Regions from separate parts of the Homo sapiens genome. Here regions 1, 2, 3, 5 and 6 are each linked to region 4. The links are contacts of gene promoters, found by promoter capture Hi-C in blood cells and fetal thymus (Javierre and others, 2016). All regions are on one chromosome and are shown on one strand. Each heading gives the region's core, a stretch centred on a gene start or on the middle of the fragment in contact. The rest is flanking DNA. Distances are from core to core; before and after follow the strand shown. Region 1 overlaps ACTL6A (actin like 6A). Region 2 has its middle 2.9 kb from the start of MFN1. Region 3 overlaps ACTL6A (actin like 6A). Region 4 holds the start of DNAJC19 (DnaJ heat shock protein family (Hsp40) member C19). Region 5 has its middle 2.8 kb from the start of USP13. Region 6 overlaps NDUFB5 (NADH:ubiquinone oxidoreductase subunit B5).

What was found. Contacts are between HindIII fragments. The CHiCAGO score rates a contact against its expected background, and 5 or more counts as called.
Region 1: a contact is called between a fragment that was not itself captured here and the fragment with the promoter of DNAJC19 in region 4, in 1 of 17 cell types (monocytes). The highest score is 5.7, in monocytes.
Region 2: a fragment that was not itself captured here is called in contact with the fragment with the promoter of DNAJC19 in region 4 in 3 of 17 cell types (naive CD8 T cells, total B cells and activated CD4 T cells); the score reaches 9.2 in naive CD8 T cells.
Region 3: a fragment that was not itself captured here is called in contact with the fragment with the promoter of DNAJC19 in region 4 in 2 of 17 cell types (total CD8 T cells and naive CD4 T cells); the score reaches 5.9 in total CD8 T cells.
Region 5: a fragment that was not itself captured here is called in contact with the fragment with the promoter of DNAJC19 in region 4 in 2 of 17 cell types (fetal thymus and activated CD4 T cells); the score reaches 8.3 in fetal thymus.
Region 6: a contact is called between a fragment that was not itself captured here and the fragment with the promoter of DNAJC19 in region 4, in 1 of 17 cell types (naive CD8 T cells). The highest score is 5.3, in naive CD8 T cells.

Annotation. Positions count from the first base shown.
Region 1 is chr3:179,568,982-179,572,288 of GRCh38, reverse strand. ACTL6A (actin like 6A) reads right to left here. Exons shown (of 14, transcript NM_004301.5): 2 at 2,389-2,465; 3 at 2,048-2,222. LOC124909462 (a long non-coding RNA gene) reads left to right here. Exons shown (of 2, transcript XR_007096181.1): 2 at 519-766. Among named protein-coding and RNA genes, the nearest start is that of ACTL6A, 7.7 kb to the right of the region's middle. The HindIII fragment of the contact is 1,020 bases long and covers 843-1,862 here.
Region 2 is chr3:179,343,305-179,346,377 of GRCh38, reverse strand. No RefSeq gene overlaps it. Among named protein-coding and RNA genes, the nearest start is that of MFN1, 2.9 kb to the left of the region's middle. The HindIII fragment of the contact is 2,685 bases long and covers 469-3,073 here.
Region 3 is chr3:179,586,728-179,589,913 of GRCh38, reverse strand. ACTL6A (actin like 6A) reads right to left here. Exons shown (of 14, transcript NM_004301.5): 14 at 1,507-1,984. The coding sequence ends at 1,904. It overlaps MRPL47 (mitochondrial ribosomal protein L47), which reads left to right. Exons shown (of 7, transcript NM_020409.3): 7 at 919-1,629. The coding sequence ends at 1,042. Among named protein-coding and RNA genes, the nearest start is that of MRPL47, 16 kb to the left of the region's middle. The HindIII fragment of the contact is 938 bases long and covers 829-1,766 here.
Region 4 is chr3:180,988,227-180,991,539 of GRCh38, reverse strand. DNAJC19 (DnaJ heat shock protein family (Hsp40) member C19) reads left to right here and starts at 1,804. Exons shown (of 6, transcript NM_145261.4): 1 at 1,804-1,940; 2 at 3,311-3,313. The coding sequence starts at 1,938. The HindIII fragment of the contact is 8,604 bases long and covers 1-3,313 here.
Region 5 is chr3:179,648,661-179,651,838 of GRCh38, reverse strand. It overlaps the pseudogene H3P13. Among named protein-coding and RNA genes, the nearest start is that of USP13, 2.8 kb to the left of the region's middle. The HindIII fragment of the contact is 5,252 bases long and covers 1-3,178 here.
Region 6 is chr3:179,606,598-179,609,758 of GRCh38, reverse strand. The region is part of intron 1 of NDUFB5 (NADH:ubiquinone oxidoreductase subunit B5); the gene reads right to left. Among named protein-coding and RNA genes, the nearest start is that of NDUFB5, 3.4 kb to the right of the region's middle. The HindIII fragment of the contact is 1,733 bases long and covers 764-2,496 here.

The DNA of each region.
Region 1 (3,307 bases), core at 103-2,602, 1.4 Mb after region 4:
TTATGCTTCCAGAAACTTTTTCTTTTCTTGTTCTTCCCCTGCTTTTTTTCCTACATCCCTAATTGTTCCCTTTCTTTCTCCTTCAAGGGTACCTTTTATTCTCTATTGGTTAAAATATACAACAAGTTTTTGCTAGAACTCCATCTTCAATCCTCTTCTCATGTTCCAATTTTTTTCAGAGTAATAAAATGCAACTCCATGTCTTAAAATCTTTCTTATAACCTTTTATTCCCGTTTACTGAATTATCACCTGGATGTTCTAAGTACTTTGAACTCAGTGAACCCATTTACTTACTACACATGAAAGAGTTAACACTGCAAGCCTGAGAAAGGCCTGCTTGTAAGGCTGACTCTTAGCTGGTGTCTGGAAACATGACTGGCAAACAGTTCCCTATGTTCATATAAAACTTGTCCCTAAATGGTAAGGGTAGCTCGCTATACCTACACTGTTTATACAATGTGGTTTGTTCTGAACACTTGCTTTCCTTCTGAGAATCTAAAATTTTGTTACATGCCAGGTAGATGGTACCTACATAACCAGCCCTCTGTAAAATCCTTGGGTACTGAGCCTCAGAGTTCTCCTGGAAGGTAACACAGATCATAACTTGTTGCTGGAGGGATTAAGCACATCCTGTGTGACTCCACTGTGAGAAGACTCTCCAAAGCCTGTATCTGGACTTCATCATCCCCTGTCCCTTTTCCCTTTGTCGATTTTGTTTTGTATCTGAATCTTCAGTACAATAAATCTTAGCTGTGAATACAACCATATGCTGAGTCCTGTGAGTGAGTCTTGCTGGTGAATAATTGAACCTGAGAGTGATTTTGGCTATCCCTGATAAGCTTGTTTTTTTTTTTTGTTTTTTTTTTTGAGACAGAGTCTCACTCTGTCACCCAGGTTGGTGTGTAGTCATGAGATCTCAGCTGCAACCTCTGCATCCTGGGTTCAAGTGATTCTCATGCCTCAGCCTCCCAAGTAGCTGGAATTACAGGTGGTACGCATCACCACACCTGTCAAATTTTTGTATTTTTAGTAGAGATGGGGTTTCGCCATGTTGCCCAGGCTGGTCTCAAACTCCTAGACTCAAGCAATCCACCCACAGTCTCAGCCTCCCAAAGTGCTGGGATTATATAGGCGCGAGCCACCACGCATGGCCAACCATGCCTTTTAAAACCGTAACACTTGCTCCTTCCCTTTATATTCCTATCTCAATGCATGGTACTCTCTGTTCAGAGTTACCCCAACCAAAAATCTAGGAAACTTTCTCAACTTCTCTCTTGCTTTCACTCCCTCGATCATTTAGTACCATTTGTCTCCTGGTTACCCTGAAAGTCCCTTCAGAATCTCTACCAGCATTATATAATAGTTTAAACCTTTTTCATTTCTCATCTGGACTCTGACCATCACATCTGTTTAAATTCCTTTGGGGTTATCCTTCAGTCACTAGCTTAATACAACCCTGGGATGGTTTACAAGCCCTTTTATGACTGCTCCCTGCCTACCTTTCCTGCTACTGCTCTCTGCCTACCTTTCCTGCTACTGACCCTAATAAGCCCAATGCTGCAACCATACTTAATTGTATTACATTTTCAAGCACATAAGTTTCTTTCACAATTCCATCCCTTCACACATGCTGGTCCCTTTGCTTTACCCAGCTTTGTCAGCCAAGCTAATTCTTACTCATTGATCAAGATTCATCATGTTACCTCCTTTGTGAAAACCATCACTGACTCCCAACACTAGAGTCAAATACCTCTCCTCTCTAATCCCATTGCTCATTGCACATACCTATATTGTACCACTTATCCCACAGTGTACCATTATTTGTATATATACATCTATTTCCCCCAACTAACTGTAAGCTTTTAATGAAAAGGAACATTTCTTATGCATCTTTGTATTCTCAGTGTCTGGAAATCAGTTTGTGGAATAAAAAACAAAACAAAACAAAAAACCATGGTTGATGTTCAACTTATAGGAAGCTACTACTTTGTATCTAAAATATAACATGTACACTCCATAATCAATTCCATGGGGAAAACATCATACCCATCCCATTTTTTAGAGGTGAAATGGCCTCCATATTCTCCCTCGGAACACGCAGAGCATTAGTATCTATGTAGTAGGTGGGACCGCCTTGTTTGCCTTTATCGCCATCTATTTCCATTAATGTGCTTCCGTCATCTCTTTCTACCACCATACCAATAGCTGTAGGAAAATCCACCTGTAAGAGTCAGAAACATGACATACAAGTTTCACCTTTCATCAAGAAGGCATTTTTTCCCCAATTAATGTATTTTATTATATTTTGTTTTGAATCAGAATTTCTGCATAAATTTAATTTACATGAATGGCTTTACATATCCAATTAACTCTAACATTACACTTACCTTGGGGCAGTCCTCACCAGCATAACCAGCTCTCACAGTATAGGATCCAATGTCAAAAACAAGGGCTCCAACTTCATCTGAAAAGATTAAAGATAATTAGCATTAACAGCTTGCAAAAGTATCATATGAAAATCACAGCTCACTGCAGCCTCAACCTCCTAGGCTCAAGCAATCCTCCCGCCTCAGTCTTCCAAATAGCTGGGACTACAATGAATTTCTTAAATTTTTTGTAGACATAAGGTCTCACTATGTTGCCCAGGCTGGACTCAAACTCCAGGGCTCAAGCAATCCTCTGCCTCAGCATCCCAAAGTGCTGCAGGCATGAGCCACTGCACTCAGCCCAATTATATTCATATTATTACTCACTTGAACCTAGTTTCAAATACACCTTAAAGAATCATTTAATTAAAATATAACAAGGCATACACCGTATTTAAGTAGAGGTTCAATCAGTTAAGAAATGGTACACTAAAACTGGGTAATTTCAGTTTACTTATTAAAGGGAATTATTTGCAAAGATATAGGTGAAATACAGGACAACCAGAAGGGACAGTACAGTACCCCAGTACTATAATGATAACTAATAATAATGGATCCATTGCCATTCTTCAAACTGAAGAAACAAGAAGAAATAACTGTTATCAGAATCTGGAGAGAAAGTTGTATGGGGAGGGCTACCTGACAGGAGCTGTGACTTTTAGTAGAGGGGATGCAGTTAGCCATGGATTACCCTGAGGTGAATGAACCAGGCTAATAAATATACCAGCAACCTCCCTCCACCATCAACTAGGGTGATTCTATAATTTATTGTCCAAAGTGGGACAACCACTATGGGCAATTTAGTCATATCTATTAAAGTTGAAATTGTGCATACATAGAATTACACTTACTTATTCTGGAGACACTCTCTCATACAGGT
Region 2 (3,073 bases), core at 562-3,061, 1.6 Mb after region 4:
AGCTAATCCATCAGTTCTGAGCATAGGTAGTCTCAAAGGGAACATTTACTCTGTTTGAATTTTAAAAATCATGATGGTATCCTTTTATTAGTTCTGTACTTAATAATTATATTTAATATAATTACTGCATTTTAAAGCAAGAGTGACATATTACAGGCTATAAATTATAGCACGGTAATTAAATGTTTAATATAGTAAGTAATAAGAAATTTAATCCATTGCTTTTGTGTGTGTGTGGAACACACATATTACCAAAAAGCCAGGAGAGTAAACACAAAGAAGGAAAAGAATTAAAATATAAACGCTAAAACCAACATAGATATTAACAAAAACTAACGTTATTTGAAAGAAATTATCAATTTGATGTATCACTGCCAAATCTGTTCAAGAACATAAAAAATGAAAGGACACAAATTAAGGGGAGAATAACTATAGATATATATATAAATGCCAACAAATTGAAAAGCTTAGATGAAGTATAAAATCTGGGAAAACATCAAATACCAAAATTAGACCGAGAAAAAATAGAAAACTCGAATAGGCTAAGTTTCCCACATATTCAAAACTAGCCAGGTCTAGATGATTTTCGGGGTAACTTTCTATTACATGTTTAACGAAAAGATTAATCTTGCCGGGTGCGATGGCTCACGCCTGTAATCCCAGCAGTTTGGATCATGAGGCGTGTGGATCATGAGGTCAGGAGTTCGAGACCAGCCTGTCCAATATGGTGAAACCTTGTCTCTAATAAAAAACACAAAAATTAGCCAGGCGTGGTGGCAGGTGCCTGTAGTCTCAGCTACTCCAGAGGGAGAGGCAGGAGAATCACTTGAATCCGGGAGGCGGAGGTTTCAGTGAGCCAACATCACGCTACTGCACTCCAGCCTGGGCGAAAGAGCAAGACTCAGTCTCCAGAAAAAAAAAAAAAAAAAATTCACACTTATGGACTACAGAGGCAAACATAGGAAATATTAGCTACCTGAGGCCAACGTTGTATTAGAATTATTTTTTTATCCAAGTAGGGTTTTCCTAGGAATACAGAAATCATCAAACAGAAATCAATATAATCCATAATACTGACAGACCAAAGGAGGAAACCCACATTTATCTCAATACATGCAGAAGAAGTACTTGCTAAAGTTTAATATTTATAATAAGTCCTAACATTTATTTTTTATTTGCTATAAGCAAAGCTCTAATATTTATTATTTTTTAAATTATCAACCATTTCTCTTTATTTCCCTTGTTCTCTGCCTATACTTACCCAACTCTTAATATTTAAAGCATGTTGTTACTATTAAAGTATGTGATACTCTTGGAGGAACAAACGATGGAATGTAATTGTGTAAGACACAGATTTACATGCTAATTATGTCCATGGGGAGTTGGTATATGATAAAATTGGTATTATGAATCACTGGGTAAGATAAATTATTTTATCACATTGGAGAAATTGGTTCAATTTAATTAACAAAAATAAAGTTTGAATCATATCTATATACAAATTCAGATGGGTATAAGACCTGAACATGAAAAGTAAAACCAGGCCGGGCGCGGTGGCTCAAGCCTGTAATCCCAGTACTTTGGGAGGCCGAGGCGGGCGGATCACGAGGTGAGGAGATCGAGACCATCCTGGCTAATCCGGTGAAACCTCGTCTCTACTAAAAATACAAAAAAATTAGTCGGTTGTGGTGGCGGGCGCCTGTAGTCCCAGCTACTCGGGAGGCTGAGGCAGGAGAATGGCGTGAATGCCGGAGGCGGAGCTTGCAGTGAGCCGAGATCTCACCACTGCACTCCAACCGGGGCGACAGAGCAAGACTCCGTCTCAAAAAAAAAAAAAAAAGAAAAGTAAAACCAGAAAATTAGGAAAAAACGTAGGAAAATAATTTGGGGACATTTTAGTTGGAGAGAATTTTGTAAAATTAACAGACAGGAGGTACAATGTAAAGGGAAAATGTGATGAATCTATTACATTAAATTTAAGGATTTCTGTTCAAAAAAGTCATCCATAACAGACACATAGGAAATCTATTTTTTGCAGTATATATTGCCAACAAAAATCAATAGTTAAAAATAAAGAACTTCGGAAAATAGAGCAGAAAACCCAACAGAAAAGCAGACAAAGGATAGGGAGAAGCAGTTCACAAAATGAAAGTTAAAATGACTAATAAGCATATTAGATAGTCTCAACCTTGTTAGTAATCAGATTATGCAAATTTAAACAATAATAATGTACTACTTTATGACCTTAAGATTTACAGGAAATTTAAAAGTTGTATGATATTGTTGATAAGCCTGTGCGGAAACATGATCTTGCTGATGGGAGTATAAACTTTAGTCATTCTGCATATATTTTGGAAGTACTGAATCACAAGTATATAAAAAACTGACAAGAACGTGTATGGTAGGTAGCATTATACAAAAGGCAAATACTTGGATACATGAAAGTCAATTTGATATTTAATTGAATTGTAGTTCAGAAAGGTGACAGTTTCCTGCATTATATGGTAAATCTCTTTGAGGTCAAGAACCATAGTTTATCTTTGTATTCCTGAGCACTTGGCTTGATAGTAGATATTCCATAGCTGTTAGTTAAATAGAAGCATAGTAAAATAGTCTTTTTGTTTTGTTTTGTTTTTTTGAGGAGTCTCGCTCAGTTGCCCAGGCTGGAGTGCAATGGCACGATCTAGGCTCACTGAAACCTCCACCTCCCGGATTCAAGTGATTCTCCTGCCTCAGCCTCCCAAGTAGCTGGGATTACAGGCATCCGCCACCATGCTTGGCTAATTTTTCTATTTGTGTAGAGACAGGGTTTCACCATGCTGGCCAGGCTGGTCTCGAACTCCTGACCTCAGGTGATCCACCTGCCTCTCAGCCTCCCAAAGTGTTGGAATTACAGGCGTGAGCCACCACGCCCAGCCTGTAAAAATGGAAGTTTTTAAGGTTAAAAAAAAAAAAAGTTTTTAAGGAAGGGGGTGTCCAATCTTTTGGCTTCCCTGGGCCACACTGGACGAAGCATTGTCTTTGGTCACACATAAAATACACTAACAATAGCTGATGAGCTCGAAAACAAAAC
Region 3 (3,186 bases), core at 48-2,547, 1.4 Mb after region 4:
ATAGCAAACCTTTATTCTTTCAGATGGGTCTTTGTTTTTGTAAATGGTCAAAATTTAGTTGGAGCAAAGACTGATGAATAGAATGGGTAATCTCATTTTGACTTTGTTCAGCCTTTATACTTTTTTTCCTATATATGTGCATATTTTTTACTTCATCCAGCTGTAATACGTGTTATCTCAATTTTCTATGACCTCTCCCATAGCACTGGCATATTGTATTGTCTTTTTTCCCCCCAAAACCTCATTTGTAATAACTTCAGCAGTACATCTTTATTGCTGTATTTTATATAAACTTATTTCTATTGACCAATATCCTGTAAGATATCAATTCAAATAGAGCTTGGTATGCAAGGATTTTTTTCATTTTCAATTTTTACAACTCCCAAGTTGACCCTACAGGTCAAGTAATTTATGTTGTAATTTATGCAGCAAATGTGTCATACCCTGGGATACTGATGTGTGGGAACAAACTCATTTAAAGAATAGTAAGTCTAGCCAGAGCCTAAGAATTTATTTTTGGCATCATGAGAGATATCCTGAGACTTATGGGAATTCCCTACTTTCAAATAGTACTCACTCTAGCTTATCATTTCCCCTATACACAGAATAACACTCTGCTAAGAGATGATGCTTAGTCATATGAGGATTGAACTTAAGGCCCAATTTGTTACAGGTTCATAATATCTGGACATTCTTTCTAGTCAGGAAATAGGGATAGTTGGTATAGGGTTTCAGATGCTCTTGACTTGTGTAGGTTTACAGTGATTACTATTCAAGTTTAATAATATATATAACACACCAAATACAGGGACTGGCATGTTTGAAGCTTTGATGTAATTGATTTATGCATATTTTGATAGTATTGAATAACAAGGAAATATTTTTGTATAAATTGCTGTTACGCTTTTTTTATTCTAGACTGGAACGTGAGAAACGAGCCCGCATCAAAGCACGGAAGGAAAATTTAGAGAGAAAGAAAGCAAAAATTCTTTTAAAAAAGTTTCCACATCTTGCTGAAGCCCAAAAGTCAAGTCTTGTCTAAGATGTCTGAACTATTAAATTTACCATTTTGTTTTTCTTGAATAGTCTGTGTACAGGAGTAAATATGTTAAGTGGTTTATAAAGAAATTCTGTTTTTAGTCAAGTGACTTTACTAATCAGTTGTTCTAAGTGTGAATATGGCATGCTAATTAGCTAATTTGGTAGAAGCTAATTTGCTTCTAAAAATCAGGTATAAAGTTCAGATGAGATTCCCACTTTATAAATTCTGACATTTAAGCAGGCTTTAAATGTCACCTGCTACCTTAGAGTGTGAAGGTGATGGTAACTGCCACAGCAAAGGCAATACCGTAGTTTTTGAATTTGAATAATAGTTTTACCTCTGTTGTTAATAGGCTATGAAGAGGATGTGGGTATTGCTGTTAATAAACGGAGGACTTTGATTCAAAATAATGAGAAATACATTTAGTCCTTAAAGTAGTAATCACAGTGCACAACAGTCCAAAATATATTTCTGGAATGGCTAATTTTTATTTAATTCTGTAAGCCTAAGGTAAAAAGCATAGGCAGTAACTTTTACTAGTCAATAAAAAGCAGTTCTACCAATCCACTGGTAATTAATACACTAAACAGAGTTGGAAAGCATTTTACTGAAAGCAAAATATTTAGAGAAAATAGACATTTATACAAAATTATAAAATGCTTGTAATAAGAATAAGTGCATTTCAAGGAAAGCACAAACTTAATTTATAGAGCCAGTTAAAGCTTTAAAAAATTTAAGTGGAAATTGAAATATGCAAAAATGTATAAACATTCTACAAAAGATGGTCATTCTTTTCCTGAGTATACTAAAGCTATGAAACGTAAGGTGACAAAAGGAAGGTAGAAGCTTGGGAACTCTTTCTCAAGGGCATTTTCTTTCTACACACTGCTTCCCTCCTTCTTCATATTCTTGCTTGGAAATCCACATCTGTTGAAAGGTACCCTGTAAAATGGAAAGAAATTTATATAATTATGCCTTACTTCTTACTAGAAATGGCTTAAAAAATTTTTTTTTTTTGAGAGAAGGTCTTGCTCTGTCAGCCAGGCTGGAGTGCAATGGCGTGATTGTAGCTTACAACCTCGAACTTCTTGGTTCAAGGGATGCTCCCACCTCAGCCTGGGACTCCAGGGGCATGCCACCTTGCCTAATTTTAATTGTTGTAGAGATGGGGTCTCACACTATGTTGCCCAGGCTGGTCTCATACTCCTGGGCACCTGTGATCCTCCTGCCTCAGCCTCCCAAAGTGCTGGAATTATAGGTGTGAGCCACTGCACCAGCGTTTTTTTTAATATCTTATTTTCGTAACTCCTAAACTTTGAATAATTCATTTAAGAGTCCCGTCCCCCAAAATAGTACTCGATTATTTCTGCCCTCCTCCAGAACCATCCAAACACACTATTTAGCCTTGCCTTTATGGTTAAAAAGAATACTAAGTCCTTCTGTATCTGTTACATTGTCAGGATTTAGAAAATATCTGGCAAGGAAGACTGAGGGTTTAGGTGTGATGGCTTGATGCCAACCTAAGGCAATAACAGAAACTGTCAGAAGGCTTGAATGAGTACTTAATGACATTTACTTTTGTTGCTCTGAGGTAAAGGGCATCCTCCCCCTTTATATACAGTATACATATATATGTATATAAACTGTATATATACAGTATATATGTATATACATAAGTAACTATATATACAGTATAGATATAAGTATATAAACTGTATATAAGGGGAGAAATGCTCTAAGTCCAGGATGCAGAAAAGTACAAGGACTTTTTGTCCTTATTCAAGGCAGATGGTAGTCCAAGCAACATCTTACACCCCGCACCATGACTTCACCATTTGCTCCAAGACCAATTCCTGACTTCCTAGACCTCACTGTAGATCTCACTGCAGACTGGGGAATGACCAGAACTTGAGAAGCAATGTTTTCATTTTAAATGCACTCCAGACAAGCCCTGACCAGTGCCAATGGGGGTATTATTAGAAAAGGCATGCATACATTAACATATTTCCACCTCTGTTTGAGAGGGGACATTGAAATTAGGCTGACAAATGTCCACTAATTAGGCAGAGGCATTTTGTTACATCAGAACACATAAAACTGGTTATTCCATTAGGTCTTCCACTCATTTGACAGTTATAAAATGC
Region 4 (3,313 bases), core at 555-3,054:
TTTTACAAACAGAAGAGAAGGACAATGTGAAGATGGAAAAGTTGGAGCAGAGTGAGATTTCAAGATGCTGGCTTACAAGACTGCAGTGATTCAGTCACAAGTCAAGGAATGCTGGCAGTCACCAGAAGCTAGAAGAAATGAGGAATGATTATCCATTCATCAGTCAGTGGACATTTAAAAAGATTACTTTTCAAGGCTGTTTCTAGGATCTTGGCAGGTAGGTAAGAGGCAACCAGACTTAAGATTCATGAGTGAGGTATCATGAGAATGAGGAAGGCTTCTACACTCCAATTTGCACTCTGGCTTCCCTCATAATAATAGCCCCACACTGAGTGATGACCATAAGCAGAACACAATATGTGCATAATCTCTACGTTCACAAAAACTCGGCAAGGTAGTTATCATTACCTTCATTTTACAAATGAGGAAGAAACTCAATCAGAAATAACTTTTCCAAGTCACAGTATTAGTAAGTGACAGAGCCAGGTTACCTCCAGTTTGATCTGCCACCAAAAAAAGAGCTATCTCCAGCTCAACAAAATGTCTTGCTGTGTTGCTACTCCCAATTTCCTGAGTCTGGGTTTTGTAAAGTCTCAAAGCTAATTAGAGTCTACTGTAAATCTATTCCTCCAGAAACTGCATTACACAGTTTGTACATACCAAAAATATGCATAATAAATTTTTCCAGATAGCATTCTAGCTTGTTGATGCCAATTTGGTCCCAAGGTCTTATGCCTCACTTGATTATTTATTTTGTAATTGTTGGGTAAAAACCAGATAAAAGAGAGGCAAAAGAGGAAGTTATAAACTTAATGCTAGTGTCTTAGTGCTGGATGTCACCTTAAATCATGTGTTGACAATAAATTACATCACAAAAACCTTAGCGCTAGAAGAGCTCTTGGATTATCAAATGCAAACTGCTTTTACAGATGAGGAAAACAAACCCAAAAATTTTGCATATTTGTTTAATAACTAACAAACTCATCAAAGCAGAATTGCATTGCAATGTAAACGGATATTTAACACTGTAAATTCTGAGTGGGAAGTAACTCCAAACTTATTTTGATCATGCAAACGTTGCATTGTAAAATTCCATTATTGTCTCCATTATTTTTTTCTTCTCAAGCATTTATGTAGGGATGTATGAAACTGATGTCCACGTAAGGGCAAAATCCAGCCCTACTTTTTATTTTGGGTGAGGAGGAAAACTTTTAAATAGCCCTTTTCAGTTGTAGGATCTTGACATTCCATGTTCAGAATATGAACTGTCTTTAATCCCATTCTACAAAACGAAAACCCAAATATTCACAAAGTCTTGTCAAGTCACATCCTTAAATGAAGTTCTTTTACATTAAAAAATGCTACCGAGCAATCCCTGAAACACAGTGTGGTTGGTTTCATTTGTTTTTCTGGGCATCTCGTTTCCTACACTGGGTTACAACATATTTGTTTGGGTTCGTGGTGGAAATGTCACAGCATGTTTAACTACATTCATTACCCTTGACAATTATTAACATAAAATAAAGGCAAAACGAGGTGCTAAGATGTAGGGGGAAAAAATCGGTCTGAGTAAGGCTGCCCATGCCCTTCCCTGCAAGAATTTCCAAATACCCACCGCCCAGGAGCAAAGGACAGAAAACACAGAGAAGCCCCACCCCTACACCCAGAAATAAAGAGATCCGCCCACCCTTCAACCAACCCGAAGTCGCTTTCTCCGCTCTGTCCACTGCTTGAGCGACTTTCCTTCTCCTCCGCGTCCCCTTTTACGACAGTTTTCCGGCCTAGTTTGCGGCTGCTCCTGCCGTGTTGCGTAGGGCGCCTGTGCTTGAGGTTGGGGGTTGCGTCGCTCTCTGGTAAAGGCGTGCAGGTGTTGGCCGCGGCCTCTGAGCTGGGATGAGCCGTGCTCCCGGTGGAAGCAAGGGAGCCCAGCCGGAGCCATGGTGAGTGCGGCCTTCCGGTCTTCTTGGCGACCTCCGGCCCAGGCCTCAACCTCAGCTCCCCGCCTCGGAGGTGTGGAGTTGAAGTTGTGCTCCTTAGTGCGACTGCGGGCGGGAGGTTTCGGTTATTGGGGAGTCACACTCACCAGGACACAACCCTGTTGGCTCGCTCTCTTGGGGGTTTGTGTTTTTACATCGTCTTTCTGCACGGTTCTCCAGCTTCTTGTCCGCACGGGCTCTGCAGGTGTTGCTTGCCTGGAACTCCTGTAAGGTCAGAGGCTGTCATGGACTCGGAGATTAGTGGAAACGTATTTGATTATAAGTGCCCTTGCCCTAACACATCTTCACAGCACTAGCTCCACTTTGCTATGTCCTTCTCTTTGGCTTTTGCTGACAGATGTCTTCTCCATGCTTCCTGAACATATTTGGGCCTGTCTTGTTAGGAAACAACAGGGCAGTGCCAAAGGTATTAGTCTCCTAGTTTAGCCCACGTTTAGCCTCGAAAATGCGTTGTTAGAATTTTACAGGAGCCGTCTGTAAACAGTTTTTCCTTCTGTAGCAGAAACCTTATTTCCACATTTTTTTTTTTTTTTTTGAGACAGAGTCTTGCTCGGTCGCCTAGGCTGGAGTGCAGTGGCACAATCTTGGCTCACTACAAGCTCCGCCTCCCGGGTTCGCCATTCTCCTGCCTCAGCCTCCCAAGTAGCTGGGATTACAGGCGCCCACCACCACGCCCAGCTAATTTTTTTTTTTTTTGTATTTTTAGTAGAGACGGGGTTTCACCATGGTAGCCAGGATGGTCTCGATCTCCCGACCTAGTGATACGCCCGCCTCGCCTCCCAAAATGCTGGAATTACAGGCGTGAGCCACCGCGCCTGGCCTATTTCCACTACTTTTGATTGAACTTTAATGTGACTTAATTTGTCTGGTGATGAAAGAAGTTTTCAAAGGGAGGGAATCATCTTTTTCACTATTGTAAAGATAAATAAGCAAGTCGAACTTGCCCTCTTTCCCATATGATGAATCCTGTAACTTTAATGCATTCAGCATAACAGATGCAGTAGTTTTAAAGATTACTGGACAGAATATTTCCGCCTTAAAAGTTGTTTCTCTGCCAGGCATGGTGGCTTATGCCTATAATCTTAGCACTTTGGGAGGCCAAGGTGGGAGGATTGCTTGAGGCCAGGAGTTCAAGACCAGCCTAAGCAACATAGCAAGACTCCGTCTCTTAAAAAAAAAAAAAAAAAAAGAAAAAAAAAAGTTGTTTCTCCTATTAAAATGCAGTTTGTAATGAGTTGGGGATGGAAGAATGGGCAAAATGAGAAAGGGTGGGAATTAGAGAAGTAAATATTTACTCTTCTCCCCCTTACCAGGCC
Region 5 (3,178 bases), core at 637-3,136, 1.3 Mb after region 4:
AAAATCAGACACTACTGTCATCTTCCTCATTGGGCAGATCCTCTCAGCGAGCTTTTGCTTTGAATTTAGTCTCATCAGCTTATTACCTTTCACGTTAATGGATGATGTTTTCTCCAATTACAGAGATAAACTTGGTTTTACAAAACTTAAAATTTAATCTTAGATTAAATACAAATTAAATCAGTGAGACACTGTTTTTCATCCTTTGGGCTGGTAAAGATATATTGAGTTAGCATGGGTTTGGGAAGTAGACCCTCATTACATTGTTGGTGGGGATAAAAACGATAAACCTCTTTGGAAGGAAATGTAATAATACCAGTCATAACTTTATATGTGCATACTGTTTTCCCCAGCATTTCCTTGTCTAGACATTTATGCAACAGATAAATTAAGGCTGTGTAAAGATATTTGTTAGAGCACTGTTTCGAGTAACAAACGTCTGGGGAAAACCTAAAGATCCTTCTGTAGAAAGTGGTTAAAATACAGTACCATTGAAAAGAATGAAGTTGCTCTACGTGTGCTGATGTGGAACAATCTCCAAATTATTACTAGATGATAAAAGCAATTTAAGCAAACTAGTGTATAAAAGCAAGGAATACATGCAAGGCTGATAATATGCAGTAGGCATTTTGGCACATCCTATATACCATGGGCCTTCATTCCAGTTGGTTGTACTTGTAGTAAATATTTTTAATGTAGCCCCTTAAAATATACATATGTGTATGCATGCCCACTTGTTTGGCTTTAGGATGTCTCTAGAGCAATACACAAGAAACTAGTCAGGCTCTGTGGAGAAGAACTGAAAGCCTGAGGTTAAGGGAGAACTTACTACCTGGTATGGTAGGGCTGTGTCCCCACCCAAATCTCATCTTGAATTCCCACGTGTTGTGGGAGAGACCCAGTAGGTGGTAATTGAATCATGGGGGCAGGTCTTTCTCGTGCTGTTCTTGTGATAGTGAATAAGTCTCACAAGAGCTGATGGTTTTACAAACGTGAGTCTCCCTGCACAAGCTCTCTCCAGTTGTCTGCCTCCATCTGAGACGTGCCTTTCACCTTCCACCATGATTGTGAAGCCTCCCCAGCCACATGGAACTGTAAGTCCAATAAAACTTTCTTTTGTAAATTGCCCGGTCTCAGGTATGTCTTTGTCAGCAGCGTGAAAACAGATTACTACACTACCACTTTGTAGCTTTCTGTATGATTCCATTTGTATTATGTGCAAGTATTGCTTTTTCCCCCCCTTTCTTTTTGGAGATGGAGTCTCCCTCTGTCGCCCAGGCTGGACTGCAATGGCGCGCTCTCAGCTCACTGCAACCTCCGCCTCCTGGGTTGAAGCGATTCTCCCGCCTCAGCCTTCCAAGTAGCTGGGACCACAGATGCACGCCACCACGCCAGGCTAATTTTTTGTTGTTTTTTTTTTTTTTTTTTTGTAGAGACGGGGTTTCGTCACGTTGGCCAGTCTGGTCTCCCACCTCGGCCTCCCAAAGTGCTGGGATTACAGGCGTGAGCCACCGCGCCCGGCCTCAAGTATTGCTTTAAAAGTTAATTAAAACTCAGCCATCGCTCTCCAACACCAGCGCCGCCTGTCACTCGCCACGCTCCAGCAGAAGAACGGGTCTAAGTAAGGAGGTCACTATACCATGGCTGGTACAAAGCTGACTGCCCAAAAATCAATTGGTGGTAAAGAACCCAGGAAGCAATCCCAGCACTTTGGGAGGCCGAGGCGGGTGGATCACGAGGTCAGGAGTTCAAGACCAGCCTGGCCAAGATGGTGAAACCCTGTCCCTAGTTAAAATACAAAAAAAAAAAAAAAAAAAAAATAGCTGAGCGCGGTGGCAGGCGCCTGGAGTCCCAGCTACTCGGGAGGCCGAGGCAGGAGACTCGCTTGAACCTGGGGGGCGGAGGTTGCAGTGAGCGAAGATCGCGCCACTGCACTCCAGCCTGGGCGACAGAGTGAGACTCCGTCTCAAACAAAAAAAAAAAAAAAACAAAAAGCAAAAAAAAACAAACAAAAAAAACTCCAGGAAGCAACTAGCTACAAACGCCGCAAGAGTGCGCCCTCTACTGGACGGGTGAAGAAACCTCATCATTACAGACCTGGTACTGTGGCACTCGTGAAATTAGACGTTATCAGAAGTCCACTGAACTTCTGATTCGCAAACTTCCCTTCCAGTGTCTGGTGCGAGAAATTGCTCAGGACTTTAAAACAGATATGCACTTCCAGAGTGCAGCTGTTGGTGCTTTGCAGGAGGCAAGTGAGGCCTACCTGGTTGGTCTTTTTGAAGACACCAACCTGTGTGCTATCCATGCCGAACATGTAACAATTATGCCAAAAGACATCCAGCTAACACACCACATACCTGAAGAATGTGCTTAAGAATCCACTATGCTGGGCACGGTGGCTCACGCCTGTAATCCCAGCACTTTGGGAGGCCGAAGCGGGCGGATCACCTGAGGTCGGGAGTTCGAGACCAGCCTGACCAATATGGAGAAACCCCATCTCTACTAAAAATACAAAACCAGCCAGGTGTGGTGGCGCATGCCTGTAGTCCCAGCTACTCAGGAGGTTGAGGCAGGAGAATCGCTTGAACCTGGGAGGCAGAGGTTGCAGTGAGCCGAGATCGCGCCATTGCACTCTAGCCTGGGGCAAGAAAAGCGAAACCCTGTCTCAGAAAAAAAAAAAAAAAAAAAAAGAAGCCACTATGATGGGAAACACTTCATTCTAACACACACACACACACACACACACACACACACAATTTCTTTTACCTGTTGTTGGTAGTTCTGAACGTTATCTATTTTTTTTTTCCCATGGGGTCAAAACGTACTAAGTATATATGATTGCGAGTGGAAAAATAGGGGACAGAAATCAGGTATTGGCAGTTTTTCCATTTTCATTTGTGTGTGAATTTTTAATATAAATGTGGGGACGTAAAGCATTAATGCGAGTCAAAATGTTTCAGTGAACAAGTTTCAGCAGTTTAACTTTATAATAATTATAATAAACGTGTTAAATTTTTCTGGACAATGCCAGCATTTGGATTTTTTTAAAAACAAGTAAATTTCTTATTGACGGCAACTAAATGGTGTTTGTATCATTTTTATCATACAGTATATTCCATCACTATACTTTCTGTGTTGTCCTACATGCAAGTACATTTTTTTTGGTTTTTGTTTG
Region 6 (3,161 bases), core at 381-2,880, 1.4 Mb after region 4:
TCAGTGACAATATGGAGGAAGTGGAATCTTTGTACACTGTTGGTAAACAAAGGAATGTAAAATGGTATTGTTGCTATGGAAAATAGCATGAGGGTTCCTCAAAAAATTAAAAACAGAATTACCATATTGTGGAATCCTAGTAAGATACATAAGCAACAAGGAAGGGGCCCCAGGTGGAGGAAAGCAATTCTGCTGAGACACGGCTAATCACAGGCAACCCACAGGCACAACATCCTGTTCCCAAATACCTCGTTCAACACATAGCCCCAGTAGAGTGACCTTATCTGCACATCTTCTCTGCTCATAGCCCCTTCAGTATGACCCTATAAAACTTCCCTCCAGTCCCTGACTCTGCAGATAGCCCCTTCTCTGCTGTGCTGCCCATTGTTCTCTTGCAACTCTATCTTCGTATTTTCTCTAATAAATCTGTCCTCTGTATCTATGACTGTCTTGGTAAATTCTTTCACCACCCACAATGCCAGTCCCAGCCAGTAACACCCATGACACACATGACCCAGCAATTACACTTCTGCAGATATACCCATAAGAATTGAAAGCAGGGTCTCAGAAGAGGTATTTGTATATCCATGTTCACAGAAACATTATTCACAACACAAGTCATACTCAATGTCACTGATGAGTTCTTGGAAACTGTGACTTTAAGTGAAACCACATACAGCAGGTCCTTAAACAACATCACTTCCTTCTTTATTATAGGTTCTGACGGTCGCAGTTTCAAGAGCCAATGATGTTAAGTGAAGCTTTACAGTAATTAAAATCTGCAAGTGCTTCGGTGTAGTGGCTCACAGCTGTAATCCCAACACTTTAAGAGGCCAAGACAGGTGGATCACTTGAGGACAGGAGTTCGAAAGAATTCTTAACAGAACCCATTTAGGATTAAACAAGTTTTTGTGGGTCTGAAGAAACTCCCCAGGCCTCCACAAACAAGTTGACTGGAGGTCTGAAGGAACTTCCCAAACCTCCGTGATTTAGCAGGAGATAAGATAAGGGTAATCACCCCAGCACCTGGATCCATTTAAATTAAGTAAATTTACTAAGGCTCCAGAGGAAGGTCCTCAGGACTCAGACCTTAATTATAGATTTTAAAAAGTTAGTCACTTTTGTCTTTAGATAAGTGCACACTTACATGTAGACATATAGCTTAAAAGGTCTACAAGCTCTGGAAAACTGTAATTTTAAGTTGGTCTGGCGATAATTTCCAGGACTTCTCCCTGTAACCAGTTACAGGAATAAAAACTCTCTTCTGGCAGGGCGCGGTGGCTCATGTCTATAATCCCAGCACTTTGGGAGGCCAAGGCGGGCGGATCACCTGAGGCCGGGAGTTCAAGACCAGCCTGGCCAACATGGTGAAAACCCATCTCTACTAAAAATACAAAAAATTAGCCGGGCATGGAGGTGTGCACCTGTAATCCCAGCTACTCAGGAGGCTGAGGCAGGAGAATCGCCTGAACCCAGGAGGCAGAGATGGCTGTGTGAGCCAAGATCGCGCCACTGCACTCCAGCCTGGGCAACAGAGTGAGACTCTGTTTCAAAAAAAAACAAAACAAAACAAAAAAAAAACTCTCTTCCTCCCCAGTTCATCTGCATCTCATTATTGGATGGCAAGAAATAGCAGCCTGACCTTCAGTTTGATATGAGAACACGGGAAGCCAGGGGTTGCAGTGAGTCAAGATGGTGCCACTGCACTCTAGCCTGGAAGACAGAGCAAGACTCTGTCTCAAAAACAAAACAAACAAACAAACAAACAAAACCTAGATGCAACCCAATTGACAGATGATGGATAAGCAAAATGGGGTAAATACATACAATGGACAACGGACAATTCAGCTTTAAAAAGGAAGGAAATTCTGACATATGCTACGACATAAATATGCCTTGGGGATATTATGCTAAGTGACAGACAAATATTATATGATTCTACTTACATGAGAAATAGAGTAGTCAAAATCATAAAGACAGCAGAATGGTGGTTACCAGGGGCTACGTGGAAGGGGAATGGAGAGTTATTGTTTAACGGATACAGAGTTTTAGTTTTACCATATGAAAAAAGTTCTGGAGTTGGATGATGGTGATGGTTGCATAGCATTAGGAATGTATTTAATACCACTGAACGGTGCACTTAAAAATGGTTAAAATAGTAAATGTTATGTGTACTTTACCACAATTTTTTTAAAGGCTACTGCTGCCAGGCACTGTTGATTTTTTCCACTCACTCTTCACAACTACCTTTTGAGGCAGGTTAAAATTCTCATCTTTTTTAAAGAGGAGGAAATGCAGGTTATGAGCAATTAGGTGTCTTCCACTTTAGCTTCCAAGATGTGATGATCACAGACATGGCTTCTGAATTCTAGAGCCAGAATTTGAAGATAGGCAGTCTATCTCCAGAAAAAACAAAACAAGACAGGCTCTCTACTACATTAGAGCTTACATTCTTGTAGGGACAGATATAAACAACCATGTAAGAGATTAAAAGCTTTCATATCACAGTGACAGATGCAAAATACCTTTGAAAGCAGGTACACAGCTGAAAACACAGTAACCTTTAGTAAACATAGCTATTAGAACCTTCCCTGCTCTGATTGGAAAGGGCGCAGAACACGGTAATGATCCTTTGAGAACCCCAAGAAAGGGCAATAATGTGGAAAGAGAAACTGGGGGTGAAATTTTGCTGCAGTTTATCTCCAGCTGGATTTGATTGAATACTACCAGAGCGAGTATTTGAAGGATTTGTATTTGGCTATATGAGAATATCTGTAATCAGAAATGGCTTATAAAGGGATTTTCATCAAGGAATGTAGTTTTGTAACAAGTTCAAATTCCTGCTGGAAATTTGTTAAATACCACTGGTTCTTTGCATCATGTTTCCAGCAAATCCCTATGTATATTGCCTCATCCTGTGGAGTGGCATAATTCAAATTAAACTGGGAGAATAGGGGTAAAAAGAGAACAAGATATTTTGAGGCTGGAGACAACTTTCTGACTTTAAGTGTTTCACTTCCTCTTTACCTGCTTCTATTGCACAGGGCAAATAGCTTACAGTATATATCTAATGAAGAGGATTAAATAAATTAATACTTTAAACCCTTAAAATGATGCTTGAGGTCAGGTGGGGTGGCTCACGCCTGTGATCTCAGCACTCT